3 separate regions of the Homo sapiens genome follow, and all the other regions are linked to region 1. Evidence: promoter capture Hi-C in human tissues and cell types (Jung and others, 2019). All regions are on one chromosome and are shown on one strand. Each heading gives the region's core, a stretch centred on a gene start or on the middle of the fragment in contact. The rest is flanking DNA. Distances are from core to core; before and after follow the strand shown. Region 1 holds the start of KDM5B (lysine demethylase 5B). Region 2 has its middle 3.9 kb from the start of CYB5R1. Region 3 holds the start of PPFIA4 (PPFI scaffold protein A4).

What was found. Contacts are between HindIII fragments. The study calls those that stand out against the background at their distance.
Region 2: a fragment that was not itself captured here is called in contact with the fragment with the promoter of KDM5B in region 1 in 1 of the 25 tissues and cell types used here (liver).
Region 3: a contact is called between the fragment with the promoter of PPFIA4 here and the fragment with the promoter of KDM5B in region 1, in 1 of the 25 tissues and cell types used here (IMR-90 fibroblasts).

What each region holds. Positions count from the first base shown.
Region 1 is chr1:202,807,171-202,810,310 of GRCh38, forward strand. It overlaps KDM5B (lysine demethylase 5B), which reads right to left and starts at 1,251. Exons shown (of 27, transcript NM_006618.5): 1 at 932-1,251. The coding sequence starts at 1,135. It overlaps LOC124904583, which reads right to left. Exons shown (of 3, transcript XM_047439549.1): 3 at 3,068-3,140. RefSeq lists silencers at 136-205, 306-425, 826-1,025, 1,056-1,265. The HindIII fragment of the contact is 12,124 bases long and covers 1-3,140 here.
Region 2 is chr1:202,969,624-202,972,611 of GRCh38, forward strand. No RefSeq gene overlaps it. Among named protein-coding and RNA genes, the nearest start is that of CYB5R1, 3.9 kb to the left of the region's middle. The HindIII fragment of the contact is 4,279 bases long and covers 1-2,988 here.
Region 3 is chr1:203,025,216-203,028,106 of GRCh38, forward strand. PPFIA4 (PPFI scaffold protein A4) reads left to right here and starts at 1,276. Exons shown (of 30, transcript NM_001304331.2): 1 at 1,276-1,414. RefSeq lists a silencer at 1,066-1,375 and an enhancer at 1,202-1,723. The HindIII fragment of the contact is 14,289 bases long and covers 1-2,891 here.

The DNA of each region.
Region 1 (3,140 bases), core at 1-2,500:
GAAATCTTCGGAGGTCTCTCCGTCTGACGTTCCCCTACAAACACGGCCTCGCCCGGACCCCATCCCCACCAGCACAGCCCAGGCCTCCCCGGGGAGCCGAGCGGCTGAGCCAGAAGAAGCCGGGAGTGTGCGCGTTCGGGAGCGCGGGCGGGCATCGGGGCCCACCGCCGCCCGTCCTGCCCCCGCCGCCCCAAAAGTGTCCCCCAGACACTAACGCCCCCCACAAACATCCGCTCCGGGGCTGGACCCGCGGCTCCTCCCCGCCCCCAGCCAGCGCTGGCCGCCCCCTTCTTGACCCCGGCCCGGGGGACACCTGGAGGCCCGGGGACCAGGCGGTGGAGGGGTGCCCTGGTCTGGAGGGTGGGGCGCCCAGGTGAGGGCCGCTCCGGGCCGACGCCGCCACCACACAAAGGACCAGGGGCTCCCGCCGCCATATTGAAAACTTTCCTCCTCGCACGACAACTCGCAAGTCCCCCACCCCCACCCCACCCCATCACACACCCCCGCACCCCGGGAGCGGAGGCGAGGACCAGCCTGCCGAGCCTCGCCGGGCCCACAGTCCTCCCTCCAGCCCGCGCCTCCGCCAGGCTCCGTGAGGAAACTCCCCCGCGACCACCCCCGGCTCCTGCCATCACTCCATCCGGAACCGAACCCGAACCTCCGCACCCGGCCGCCCGAGCCCCGCGGCGACCCGGCCCTCCCATGGCACCGCCGAAGCCCCCGGTTCTCCCACGCTCCTCATCTCCCACCCTGGAGAAGCCCCCGTCTTCCTCCCCCGGCCTCAACTCCGACCTTCTAGGCAGCCCCAAACTTGACGAGGCCGGCGGGGCGACCGGCTCCCCGCCCCCCGCGCCTCGGGCCTCCCCGGACCCGCGCGTCCCCGCTCCCTCCCCCAGCCACGAGCTGGATCCGGGGTGCTGGCGTGACTCACCGGCGGCGGCCGCACCTTACAGATGCCAGTCTGCTCGGCTATGGGCCGGATCTTGTGGATGAAAGCGAAGGGGTCCGCGAACTCTTCCCAGCTGGGTTCGAAGACCGGGCACTCGGGTGGAGGCAGGAACTCGCCCAGCGGGCCCGGGCCCCCGAGGGGCAGCGCCGGGCGCGGGCCTGGGTGCAGTGTGGTGGCCGCCTCCATCACCGCAGGCTGGGCAAGGGCGAGGCGAAGGTGGGCTCCGGGACCGAGGCTGCGAGCTCCGCTCGGTCCGAGACCCGTGCAGACGCGGCTCGAGCAACAGCAAGTCCGAGTTGTACGGGCAACGGCAGCACCTTGGGCTTTTTCAGCCTCCGACGACGACGTCTCGCCGCAAGCCCACGCCGTGCGCCTCCGCCGCCACGGCGAGGAAAAAGAGTCCCACCCCACCCCCATCGACCCACCCTCCGCGCGCGGCTCCCCGCCCCGCCCCCGAATCGGGCGGGGCCGCGCCTTCCGCTGTGGATGGAGTTTATCCTTAGGGTTTCAGTTGAGCCAACTTTTATTGACCATTTACTATGTATCAGAGTTCCTGCCCTGAAGAAGTTAAGTCTGGTAGAAAGGATCAGTCCCATAAGCCAATCATTCAATCACGTCAGTACACAATGGTAGGTGCAGTAAAACCCAGGAGGGGGTTTTGGAAAGAGTATTGGAAACGGAGAAGGATTTTCCAGTAGAGATAACAGCTTGAACATACACATAGCATGTTCATGAGAAGGCAATAGTAGTAATAATAATAATAACGTAACATTTTGGGGCACTTTCATATCCTAGGCACTGTTCTAATTGCATCGCATGATTAATCACACAACCCTATGAGATAGGTACTCTTATTTCCACTTTACAATAAGGAAAGTGAGGCATAGGTAGGTTAAGCAATTTGCCATAATTCACATGGCTAATAAGTGATGGAGACTATTGGGAGGTGGAGATGTTGCAGGGAAAATAATCATCCACAAACAGTCTATGACGAGGTCAGACTTGAGAGGGGCGAAAGACTTGAAATAATCCAGACAAGGAATGATAGGATCTAAATTAAGGCAGTGGTGCTGATAATTATGAGGAAGGGATGCAAAGGTAGGAAATAAAATTAGGACATAGTGACAGATTGAGGGGGGACGACGAGGTATTAAGATTCAGATGTCTGGCGTACCTGCCTGAGTAGATGCTAGCCCGTTGGCATTGCTGGAACATTCACCCCAATTATATACAGAAGGCGAGTTACTCAAGGGAAGAAGATACTGTGTTCATTTCTGGACATTTTGAATTTGAGGTGTCTCTGGTACATACAGGTAGAAATACACAACGGGGTATCCTTCAACAGACTGAAGGGTATAAATCTGAAGGGGCGAGATCAGAATTGGAGATATAAATCTGGGAGTTATGTGCTTATGGGTGATAGCCGCTATTTAATGCTACTGTGTGTAAAGCACTGCTCTAAACGCTCTGCATGTATTAGCTCACTGAGTCTTCACAACCACCATATTGAGTAGGTACGATATTATCCTCATTTTGCAGAGCAGGCAACGGAGGCAAAGAGGTTAACGAACTTTAAGAGATACGAACACTTTTGAGGCGCCTTTTTTCTTTTGGCGGGAGACGGGGGACGGGGGTGGGGGGGTAGTGTCCAGCAGCCTCAGAAAAAAGGAGGAAGCTCAAAAAGTAGAACGTCAACATTGAAATGACCTCTTTCATCCAGAAAGCTGCCAAACGTATGCAAGGAATGTTTGTCAAGATCTTAGTTCGCTTTCAGATTCACCTAGTGGAAGGAAATCTCTTATGCTTAAGAAGTCTTCAATTAAAAGGGGGGATGGGCGTGGGGGGAGAAGAAAACCGCCTTCCCTTCAACAAATTTTTCCCAGAGGTACCGGGCCCAGGAAAGAGTTCACAGTGGTCCTGGGAGAACGTATTCCTTTTCTTAGCTCTCCAGGGCTTTGGGACCTGGAGTCTTTTCCTGCTCCCTACTGCAATGGAGAGTCAAGCCCAGGGGACAGCTAATACACTATTAAAAGAATTATCAGTGCAAGATAGATATGCGATGTGGCAAGTTATAATAGAATCTAGGTAGTGGGTATAGAGGAATTTGATGCAAATTTCTTTTAACTTTACTGAATATTTAATAATACTAAATAAAAGTTGGGTAGAAGAATTATCGTCGATGGCTCTTTGG
Region 2 (2,988 bases), core at 382-2,881, 160 kb after region 1:
CCTGTAATCCCATCACTTTGGGAGGCTGGATGGATCACTTGAGCCCAGGAGTTTGAGACCAGCCTGGGCAACATGGCAAAATCCTGTCTTTACAAAAATACAAAAATTAGCCAAGTGCGATGGCGCTGGCCTGTAGTCCTAGATACTAAGGAGGCTGAGGTGGGGGTATTGCTTGAGCCTGGGAGATCAACGCTGCAGTGAGCCATGATTGCGCCACTGCACTCCAGCCTGGGCAATAGAGCAAGACCCTGTTTAAAAAAATATATATATATAATGTAGTGTGAGGGGGAAGTAGAATTTCAAACCTGTGTTTTATAATTCTGAATTAGGATGTAAAACTCAGTGGCCCTTTTTAGATAAGATATCCAGAAAGAAGCTTGGAGGAAGACTTGCTCATACTGAGGAGATGGCATGGAGGAATCAGACCAGGAGATGTAATAATGACAAAAAAATTAACATTTATTGAGCATGTGCAATATAGCAAGAACTAGGTAAATTGCTTTTCACGTATTCTGACAACATCCATTTAATCCTGACAACAACTGTGAGATAGATATTATCATTAGTAGTCTCATTTTATGGAGTGGGGGGAAACTGAAGTTTAGGACAAGTAAGTCACTTGCCCAAGATCACCTACTAAATGGCAAACTCAGACTGCATACCAGGCAGCTTGATGTTGAAAACTAACAACCTCACACCCTTTTTGAACTTTTCTTTTTTTTTTGAGACGGAGTCTTGCTCTGTCACCCAGGCTGGAGTGCAGTGGCGCAATCTCGACTCACTGCAACCTCTGCCTCCCAGGTTCAAGTGATTCTTCTGCCTCAGCCTCCTGAGTAGCTGGGATTACAGGCATGCGCCACCATCCCCGGCTAATTTTTGTACTTTTAGTAGAGACGAGGTTTCACCATGTTGGCCAGGCTGGTCTCAAACTCCTAACTTCGTGATCCGCCTGCCTCAGCCTCCCAAAGTGCTGGGATTACAGGCGTAAGCCACCGTGCCTGGCTGAACTTTTTAGTATGGAAACTATCAAACATATACAAAAGTAGACAGAACAGTATAATAAAGCCCGACGTACCCATCACCCTCTTCAACAATTATTAAATCATGGTCACCTTTCTTTCATTTCTTCCCCAGTCCGTTCCTTCCTCCAGTATTATTTTTAAGCAAATCCCATATTTTTTATAACTTTGTCCTTAAATATTTTAGTGTGTATCTTTAAAAGCTAAGGACTTAAAAATAACCATAATACCATTATCACATGTAAAAATAATTAACAACAATTACTTAGTTTCATCAGATAGCTAGTCAGTGTTCAAAGTTCCACCTGTCTCTTTTTTTTTTTTTTTTTTTTGAGATGGAGTCTCACTCTGTCGCCTAGGCTGGAGTGCAGTGGCATGATCTTGGCTCACTACCAGCTCCACCTCCCAGGTTCACGCCATTCTCCTGCCTCAGCCTCCCGAGTAGCTGGGACTACAGGCGCCCGCCACCACGCCTGGCTAATTTTTTGTATTTTTAGTAGAGACGGGGTTTCACTGTGTTAGCCAGGATAGTCTCAATCTCCTGACCTTGTGATCCATCCTCCTCGGCCTCCCAAAGTGCTGGGATTACAGGGATGAGCCGCCGTGCCCGGCCTTTTTTTTTTTTTTTTTTTTTTGAGATGGAGTCTCACTCTGTCACCCAGGCTGGAGTGCAGTGGCACGATCTCGGCTCACTGCAACCTCTGCCTCCCGGGTTCAAGAGATTCTCCTGCCTCAGCCTCCTGAGTAGCTGGGATTATAGGCGACTTCCACAGCGCCCGCCATGGCGCCTGGCTAATTTTTGTATTTTTAGTAGAGAAGGGGTTTCACCATCTTGGCCAGACTGTTCTTGAACTCCTGACATTGTGATCCACCCGGCTCGGCCTCCCAAAGTGCTGGAATTACAGGCATGAGCCACTGCGCCTGGCCCCAGCTGTCTCATTTTAAATTTGTAATTGTCATACATTAAAATAGACTCTTGGGCATACAGTTCTGTGAATTCTAGAATATGTATAGATTTGTGGCACCACTATAATCAGGAAATAGACCAGTTTGATCACCCTGCAAATCTCCCATATGCTATCCCTTTATGGCCACATCCTCCCCTTACCTTTAACTCCTGGTTATCACTGATGTGTTCCCTGTCAATACACTTTTGCCTCTTTATGAATGTCACATAAATAAAGTCTATACAATATGTAAGCTTTTGAGTGGATTTCTTTCACTCAGCATAGTTTGAGATTCATCCAAGTTATCATGTGTATTTACAGTCCATTCTTTTCATTGCTAGTAGTATTCTGTTGTATGGCTGTATCATAATTTGTTTATCCATTCATCAGCTGAAGGACATTTGAGTTATTTCCAATTTTTGGTGATGATTGAAATTGCTTTAAACATTCATGTGCAGATTTCCATGTGAACCTAGTTTTTATTTCTCTGAAATATCCACAAGTGTGATTTCCGGATCACATGGAAGGTGTATATTTAACTTTATATAAAAAGCTGCCAAACTGTTTTTCAAGGTGATTATACCATTTTGCCTTCCCACTAGCAATGGATGAGAATTCCAATTGCTGCGGCATTTTCATTAGCAATTGGTATTGTCAGCACTTTTGATTTTGGCCATTCTAATAGGCATGAAGAGGTATCTCATTGTGATTTTACTTTTTTTTTTTTGTTTTTTTGAGATAGAGTCTCCTCTGTCACCAAGCTGGAGTGCAGTGGTATGATCACGGCTCACTGCAGCCTCAACCTCCCAGGCTCCAGCGATTCTTCTACCTGAACCTCCCTGAGTAGCTGAGACCACAAGCAAGTGCCACCACTCCTGGCTAATTTTTTTAAAAGTTTTGTAAATACGAGCTTTCACTTTATTGCCCAGGCTGATCTTGAACTCCTGGGCTCAAGTGATCCTCCCGCCTTGGCCTCCTAGAGTGTTGGGATTACAGACATGAGCCACCATGCTATCCTCATT
Region 3 (2,891 bases), core at 26-2,525, 220 kb after region 1:
TTGAAAATCTGCTATGACTTTTGACTGCCCGAAAACTTAATAGCCTACTGTTGACTGGAAGCCTTATTGATAACATAAACAGTTGATTAATGTGCATTTTGTATATGTAGTATATACCTTATTATAATAAGCTCGAGAAAAGAAAATGTTATTAAGAAAATCAAAGAAGAGAAAATACATTTACTGTTCATTAAGTGGGTCATCATGTTGAGCAGGCTGACGAGTAAGAAGAGGAGGGGTAGTCTTGCTGTCTCAGGGGTGGCGGGGAAGGAAGAAAATCTGCATGCAACTGGCCCTGTGCAGTTGAAGGCCCTGTTGTTCAAGGGTCACAGATTTAGCTTCACTTACCCACCCCTCAGATCAGAATTACTCAAGATTTCCCTGTCTTCAAAGAGACGCAAGGAAATTATGCCAAATGGTGAATATATTGGGTGGAAGATAAATGAGAGAAGGTTGTATGTGTCACTGATCTCAACTATAGCATTTGCTGCTGATATAGAACATGCTGTGTATATATCTATAAATACACACACATGAACACATTGCATGTATATAAAAATTGTTCACACTTTTAGTGGTGCTTACTGGGTATTGGTAAAGGATTGAGTAGGCACTGTGATGAAACTTCACAAAGCAGATGGAAAAGATGCATTAATAGCCACAGGGGGCAGGGTAAGGGAGCAATTCAGGAAAATGGAGAGGCTTAGCTAAAATTTGTCAGTCAGGAATTTTGGCATTTGAGACTTGTTTTCATACTATGTATATGTAATAGACAAACCCTTCATTTTGTAGTAACAGTGTTAGAACAGCCAGGTGCCTGAAGGCAAGCGACACAATTCACTGAAGAGCATACTACAGATGTAGTATCCGGATATCAAGTTTCCCCACTTAAAAAATGGGTGCGATCAAAGGAAAAGCAAGGAACGGGCAGGAGAGCAAGCGTGAAAGGTGACAAACTTGACAATTACAAGGCCGAGACTAAGGCCAATTTAGGGAACGGGCTGTTAGACTAGGAACAAGGGCGAGTTCAGAGGGAGGGGCAGAATGTGGGCAGCACTCCTGGGCCCTGAGACCCTTCTGCGGAATAAAACTCTGGCACTTCGCCACCTCCTAGGCTGAACCAAGATGGCGCGCGGCCTCAAAGCGGCGCTCTCGTCACGTGCCCGGACCCGAGGCGCTTGGGGGCGGGAGGCGTGGCCTCGGTCGCGGCAGCCCAGCCCCGCCTAGGGGGCGGAGCCGGGGGGGGTTGTCCGCGGAGGAAGGGGGCGGGGCCCCGCGGCCGCGCGCTTGGGCGGCGGAGGCTGCAGCTACCTCGGCGCCGGCTCGGCTCTAGGACGTGTCGGGCTGCACGGGTCGGGGGCGGCTCCCTGCTGCTTCCGAGCCTAGCCGCCTGGCCTTCGGCATTTGCAGGCAGGTGAGCGCCCAGAGCCTGGACTGGGGTAGGATGCGTCTTTTCCCCATCTCCAGCTCCCCTCGACAGTTTGGGGAGGGGTCTCGTCTATCGCACCTCGGGAAACAGCCCTTTTTGACTCCGTATGTGCTACCTCCGGCAGGCGTCGGTACTGCTTACCCTGCCGCCCCTCGCCCTCCTTTGCGGTGCCCTGTGCCCTTGGGGGTGAGGATAGGGGCGATGCCTGATCTGCGGGGAGGGCGTGGAGTGCGCCCTCTGCTCCATCGGCTTCAGGGGAGGGGGCCGAGTTGGCGAGTCTCCCGGTGGGAACGGAGCAGACTGCGCCCCCATTTCCCCTCCAGGAGAGTCAGAAAAAGCGCCTCTCGGCTCCGGGGCCAACCCCACTCCTTTGGGGACGCGATTCTGATGGGCTGAGGTCTTCGCTCTTCGCGGGGGTCTTAATCTTTCCCGAGTTGCTCATAGCACCCCTGTTCCTGTCGCTAGCTCTCCATTCCTCGAACTGCCAGCCTCAGTCTGTGCCAGAGATGCCCCCATCTCCGCAGTGCCAGGGCGGTGGGGTGGAAGGAGCGGCCAACCCGAGGCCTGGTGGGGGTGGGGACAGGGGTGGGCGCAACAGGAAAAGAGGGCTGGAATAGAGATGCCTGAACTGGGAGGGTGGGAGTGGGGCGCTGACTTACGTCCACGCAGTAGGGATGTTTTCCAGCGCAGATTTTGAGGTTTTGATGGTGGGTGGGAAGAGAGAGGTCGGGCTGGAGGACTTGGAGACATGGTGTAGGTGGTTTTCTTCGAGAAGGAGGAGGGATCCAGGACAAGGTGCCACTAGGAGCTGATGTCACCTTTGAGGAGAGGTGTGCTGGTAGTTTCCATCAGAGGAGCAGGAGAGTTGGGGCCGTTCTGTGTGGAGAGCAAGTGGTTAAGGAGGCGCTGCTTCGCAGGGAGATCCCCTCCTGGTGTGAGCTTAAGGGTCCCCTCCAGGAGCCAGGTTTCAGGGATTTCCCATAGTCCTTTCCAGAGTTCTTGGATCTGGTACCTAGTACTTTGCTCAACATCCAGCAAACATTTGTTGGACACCTACTATCTGCCAGATACTATGCTCGGTGCTAGGTCTTCTGAAGGCAATTTACAGCCACGGAGTAGCTGAAAGGTACACATAGGAGGCACACATAGCAGGTATTCTGTTAACACCCTTCTCACCGCCCATCCCCATTCTGTTACATTGCTGTTGGATTAGAAAAAGAAAGAACTGTGTCCACGTGCTTTCAAACAGCTGTCTGAATTAGACTCCAACCTACACACCCCCTACCACTATTAACTGGCCAGGTAGTCCCAGGGAAGCTGCCTAAGCAAAAGGGCAGCTTGAATGATTTCCCTTGGTTATTTTCTCAGATTTTGTCCTGAGGCTTGAGGAGGCTTCGTGGGGTAAACGGTATCTCAAAGTAAGGAGATAATGAATGACAAAATGGTTATTGGGGGCCAAGAA